2 separate regions of the Homo sapiens genome follow, and region 1 is linked to region 2. The links are contacts of gene promoters, found by promoter capture Hi-C in blood cells and fetal thymus (Javierre and others, 2016). All regions are on one chromosome and are shown on one strand. The core of a region is centred on a gene start or on the middle of the fragment in contact, and the rest is flanking DNA. Distances in the headings are between cores, read along the strand shown. Region 1 has its middle 120 kb from the start of FOXB1. Region 2 holds the start of FOXB1 (forkhead box B1).

Region 1 (2,862 bases), core at 107-2,606, 120 kb before region 2:
AGTATGAAATAGGTACTATCGTTTATTTGGTGTTAAGAAGAGGAAACCGGGCCAAAGAAAAGTTTTTCCCAACTCCAGTTTGGTTCCAAGTTCATGTTCTTAACACTGAACTCTACTGATGATCCCGAGTTCCTTTGTTTTGTACTTGTGACATTCCTGCAGGAGCAGTCACTCTTTTGTGACATGAGAAAGATGAGTTTGGGGCTCTGAAGTGCTTCTTAGCAAACCAGAGAAGCTTTGCAGGGCATGCTGCCAGTGAGCCAACTCTTGGGGGCTCATTTTTCTGGGCTCCTCATGCCAGGACAGAATGAAAGATTTCACTTAGATAATTACCTAGGAGGGGAAACCGTGTAAAAAGTCGTGGTGCTCAGAGATGATTAAAAAGCATGATTTAATAGAAGTTGCAGTTTCACTTTCACTCGAGGTTGAGGCATCTTAAAGGAGAGGGAAAAAACCATAGGGCAGAGTCAGGAGAGCGGGTTGGTCCTGTTTCGGTTCAGCTGTCTGGCTTAGGGCAAGCTCTGGGCTTCTCTGAGGCTTCATTTCTTCATGTATTAAATCAGGAGTGAGCCAGATAATCCCCAGCCTGTCTCGGCTTACAGTGTGAGATTTGTCTGTCTCTGCTGTAGCTGGGAAGTTACAGAAAGGGGGCACCCTCTCCTCGTCTTCCGCTGCTCCCTTCCCCCAACCCCTCATATTAGGAAACAACTTTCCAAATGACGTTTTTGAGAGGCCAGGTACAGACAAACTTATCTTTTAGTCTGGAGTGAAGTGCCACAAACCCAACAGCTGTTGTGGTCAGATGGGGTATACAAAAACAAACGTGCGCGCGCGCGCGCGCACACACACACACACACACACACACACACACACACACACACAAACACAGAAAACAAAAAAGGGTAGAGCCCACTGCATGGTCAATACAATTTTTTGGAAAAGATCTCTTGTTCTTAATCCTATTCTGATTTTCCCACTTTTGATAAAGTCGGTGGTCTAGAGAAACAAATCTCTGTTAGGAGAAAAACAGCTGTGTGGGTACACCAGGCAAGCCTAACTGAGCACAGCTGTGGGCTGGGCTGGCCTGGCCAGGGCCACCAGTTCACTTTCTCTGCCCTGGAAGCTGTCCATCCTCCATCAACAATTTGTCACCATGTCAGTTTTAAAATCCCAAGAGAACGACTATGTTGTTTTTATGCTGATCATTTATATTTACCCAGAAGTTTCTTTTAGGTTTAGCTGAAAGCCACCCTTCTCAAAAGTGCCTATAGTTACTCACAATTACTTGTGCAAAAAAAAAAAAAAAAAAAGGTAAAGGGGAAGTGGAGCCTGACAAAGATAATCCAGAAGTAATGTACACTGCTTTAGGAAATCTGTCATCTTCTGGAGGCAGACATGCCTGCCTACTGCCTAGTGTAGTACTTGGCACATACTGGGCACTCAAAAAAAACTATTCATGGAATGAGAGGATGGCTGGATGGATGGATGGATGGATGGATGGATGGATGGATAGACGGACGGATGGATGGACGGATGGATGGATGGATGGACCGACAGACGGACAGATGGATAGATAGATAGATAGATAGATAGATAGATAGACAGATAGATAGATAGATTGATAGGTAGGTAGGTGGATAGATAGATAGATAGATAGATAGATAGATAGACAGACAGACAGACAGACAGACATTCAATAGATGAGGTCACACAGCCCTAGAAGGCTAGGTCCTGTGTTAATAATGGGTAGCCAGCTGGAGGCAAACCTGGGACTGACAGGTCTGCCAATTTCACACACAGGGCTCATTCTACAATCTACTCCCTGCTTTCGTTTTTGTGTTTTTCATGTACAACTTAGTTCCTTAAGCACATGCAACTGTAAACCAATAACCCCTTAATGCTTTCTCATGTTCAAATGTGTGATCACATCTTACAATTTAGGGAGTACCCTGCACTAAGCAGGTTGGGTGCGATGGCTGCAACCACACAGCAGATGCTTCCCCTTCTGTGAGCAAATTTGGAGGTGTGCACAGGGTAAACTAGGCAGGAAGGCAAGAAGAGCTGTCTCTCTCCATCTCTCAAGTAGTCCAATAGCTGGATTCTTCTGGGTCAGTGCAGCGTTAACCAGAAGCCATGCTGCTAGCCCTCTCTGTGGCACCTTCTTAGAATTACTACTCAAATGCGGTGCAAAATGCTGTAACTGAGGGCTGTCAGCTTCTCCTAGATTGTTTAGAATGTGTTGTTTTCTCTTTTATTGATACATAATATTTTACATGTGTGTGGGGTACATGTGTTTGTTACATGCATAGAATGTGTAATGATCAAGCCAGGATATCTGGGTTATCCATCACCCTCAGTGTTTATCATTATTTTTGTGTTGGTATCATTTCAAGTTCTCTCATCTAGTTACTTTGAAATGTACCTAATATTCTTGCTAAGTGTAGTCACCCTAGTCTGCTATCAAACATTAAAGCTTATTTCTTCTAACTATTTTGTACCTATAACCAACCTCTCTCTGTCTCTCTTTTTTTTTTGAGACAGAGTCTCACTCTGTCACCCAGGCTGGCGGGCAGTGCCGTGATCTCAGTTCACTGCATCCTCCACCTCCCGTGTTCAAGCGATTCTCCTACCTCAGCTCCCTGAGTAGTTGGGACTACAGGCACACGCCACCACGCCTGGCTAATTTTTGTATTTTTTAGGAGAGACAGGGTTTCACTATGTTGGTCAGGCTGGTCTCAAACTCCTGACCTCAAATGATCCACACAGCTCGGCCTCCCGTAGTTCTGGGATTACCAACCAACCTCTCTTCATCTCCCTCCCCAGCATCCACACTTCCCCATTTCTGTCTTCTGAGATTTTTCA
Region 2 (2,773 bases), core at 189-2,688:
GGCACGGGGATGGCGGGCAGCGTTTGGCCCGCCGCGTGGCACAGCGGCTTCAACGGCACGCCGTAGGCGCTGTAGTCGCCACTCGCCATGGAGATGGGGGTGGCCGAGTCGATCATGCCGGCGGAGCCATACACGTGTGGCCAGCCGGTGCCCAGCGAGCTGCCCATGGTAGTCAACTGGTTGGGGAGCGGGTAGGCAGCGGGCACCGGCTGCATGGCGGAGAAGGCCAGCCCCCCAGGCATCTTGTATTCCCGCGCGATGATGTTCTCGATGGCGAAGGGGTGCTTGAAGCCCGAGGGCTGCGCCACGCCGCCCAAGTTGTAGGCGGCGGCGGGCATCTGTGGCAGGTGCGTGCCCGAGGCCGCCAGCGCGCTGAGCCGCAGCTTGGCCTGCTGCTGCAGGTACTGCGCCGCGTCGGCTGGCTTGCTGGGCGCCAGGTGGTCGGACTTAAGCACCTTGAAGCGCTTGCGGCGCCGCAGGAAGCTGCCGTTCTCGAACATGTCCCCGCAGCTTGGGTGCAGCGCCCAGAAGCTGCCCTTGCCTGGCTGGTCCGGCCGCCGCGGGATCTTGATGAAGCAGTCGTTGAAGGAGAGGTTGTGGCGCAGACTGTTCTGCCAGCGCTGCGTGTTCTCCCTGTAGTAGGGGAAGCGGTCCATGATGAACTTGTAGATCTCGCTCAGCGGCAGCATCTTCTCGGGAGAGCTCTGGATGGCCATAGCGGTCAGCGAGATGTACGAGTAGGGCGGCTTCTGGTCGCTGTACGTGTTGCGGCCGGGCCGAGGCATCTTCTTCCTCGCCCTCTTCTTGCTCTGGGTCCGCGCGGGCCGGCGGACTGCTCGGATCTGGGAAGGGGGTGGGTAATAGGGAAAGGTAGCATGGATGCACAGAGACACCGGCGGGGTCAGCCAGACCGAGTAACAGACTTCGGGGGTCGGGGGTGGGGCCTGCGGCGCTCGATCAGCCAGCGCCCGGACTCTTTCGCCAGCAACTTTGCGGGCTTAGTGGGCGCGGGAGGGGAAGCCGGCGAACGGCGCGAGGATAGCCGGGAAGTAAGTCGGTACTGGGGCCAGAATAGGGGGCAGGGACGGAACAGAGAGCTGCTCACCTTAAAGTTGCTTCAAGTTGCGCGTCCGCATCCGGGAGGACGCCGCTGCGCGCCGCTTCTCTCTCGGCGCGCACTCGACGCGCACTCCGCGCGCAGCGTCCGGGTCCGGTTGGACTCGGCGCGAACCTGGGCTCTTGAGCTCAGCCCCGCAGCGTCCCGTGCCGCCCGGTCCGCGACGCTCCTGGAGCGTCCTGCGGGCGGCCGAGCTCGGCTGCGGAGTCCCGGCGCGGATGGTGGCAGCGACGTGTTAGGGCTCCGGAGGGCGCTGCTGTGGGCTCCGCGTCTCCGCTGAGCTAGGTGGCTGCCTCCATGTCCTCCCTCGAACCATCTGATAGTTTTAAGCGGTGACAGGAGCAGAAAAGACCCCTGTAGCGGCGCTTCATTAATGTGCCACTTCTTAGCTATCATATGACAATCGCCTTGGGAGGAGGAGGAAGAGGAGGGGGAGCGGGGGCTGCAGAGGGAGGGGACTGAGCGAGAAGGGAGAGCCCGGCCAGCTCTGGTTTCTTTCACACCTATTTACATGGACACCTTGGCCAATAGGAATCACTTCCAGCTCAAGACTGGGCGAGGGGGAAGAGCCTCGGCCACTGGGCAGGCAGCTGGACGCGCCGGCCGGTGTGCGCCGTGTGAAGGTATGAGGAAGCGGCCGCCGCGGAAGAGGGAGCCAGGCGACCACTCACGTTCACAGATGGAGCAGCCGCGCGGATGATGTTTGACATGGAAATTGCTTGGCTGGGGTATTCTGTTTCCTCTGCGTTGTATCCGGTTTGTATCGTTAGGTAACTTTAGGCACGGCTTTCCCCTGAAGCCGACCCTTTTCCTGCGCTTAGCACTACCCGGGGTTGGTTGCATGGGTTATAATAATGAAAACACACCCTTGCCCCCCAGTCCCCGGAGAGTTAGGTCGAAATTTGACTTGACTTTCCTATGCAGCTGCTTCAGCTTTGTATAGTTAGTGTGTAGCTTTGAAAAAGTGATGGGGTTTACAAATACTTTCAAAATGTGATTGGACATCCCCATGTAAGAACCCATTTTGAATGTAACTGTATTGACCAAATTTTTAAAAATTAAAATAGTGTATCTGGGCGAAGAGTCCAGGTATTTGCTTTAAAAGTCCTCCGGGAATTTGGTTGGACACAGGATGGAGGCTCAGGAGCTGTTGGGGCAAATGTTGTGCGGACCTGGGGAGGGCCTGAGTTTGTTTGACACAGTTTATCACCAGGTAAGCCTCAGGGGCTCTCGCTTTTCCCAGGTGGTTTGAAACTTTAGGACTCAGGCACATCCTGGAAGTTTTCATTTTACACCCGGAACTCCCCTTCCCAGCCCTCCCACCCCCCCAACCTCCCACCCCCCATCCCCCAACTGCCGCTTTTTTTGGTATGGAGAACTTATTTAGGATTTAGAGTGTAGCAAAAGCCGCCTGCGATCCCACTAAGACAGCAGTATCTTCTACAACTTGGGGAAAGAACCATAGAGTTTTCCTTCTTGGGGAGCGGGGAATGTGCCTTGGGTCACTCCGCCTGGTGCGAGCAGCAGGCTCCCTTCGGTTCGGATTCGCCTTGGAAGGGTTAAATGAATCATTATTATTATTATCATTATCCTCATCGTCGTCGCTGCCGTCATCATCATCATCATCAAATTGCTATGAAATAAATAGTGAGTCGA

What was found. The method cuts DNA at HindIII sites, captures the fragments that hold promoters and counts their contacts. A CHiCAGO score of 5 or more calls a contact.
Region 1: a contact is called between a fragment that was not itself captured here and the fragment with the promoter of FOXB1 in region 2, in 4 of 17 cell types (activated CD4 T cells, naive CD4 T cells, total CD4 T cells and 1 more). The highest score is 7.6, in activated CD4 T cells.

The regions. Positions count from the first base shown.
Region 1 is chr15:60,125,527-60,128,388 of GRCh38, reverse strand. No RefSeq gene overlaps it. Among named protein-coding and RNA genes, the nearest start is that of FOXB1, 120 kb to the right of the region's middle. RefSeq lists an enhancer at 321-510. The HindIII fragment of the contact is 2,238 bases long and covers 238-2,475 here.
Region 2 is chr15:60,002,976-60,005,748 of GRCh38, reverse strand. It overlaps FOXB1 (forkhead box B1), which reads right to left and starts at 1,438. Exons shown (of 2, transcript NM_012182.3): 1 at 1,106-1,438; 2 at 1-842. The coding sequence starts at 785. RefSeq lists an enhancer at 1,242-1,757. The HindIII fragment of the contact is 10,028 bases long and covers 1-2,773 here.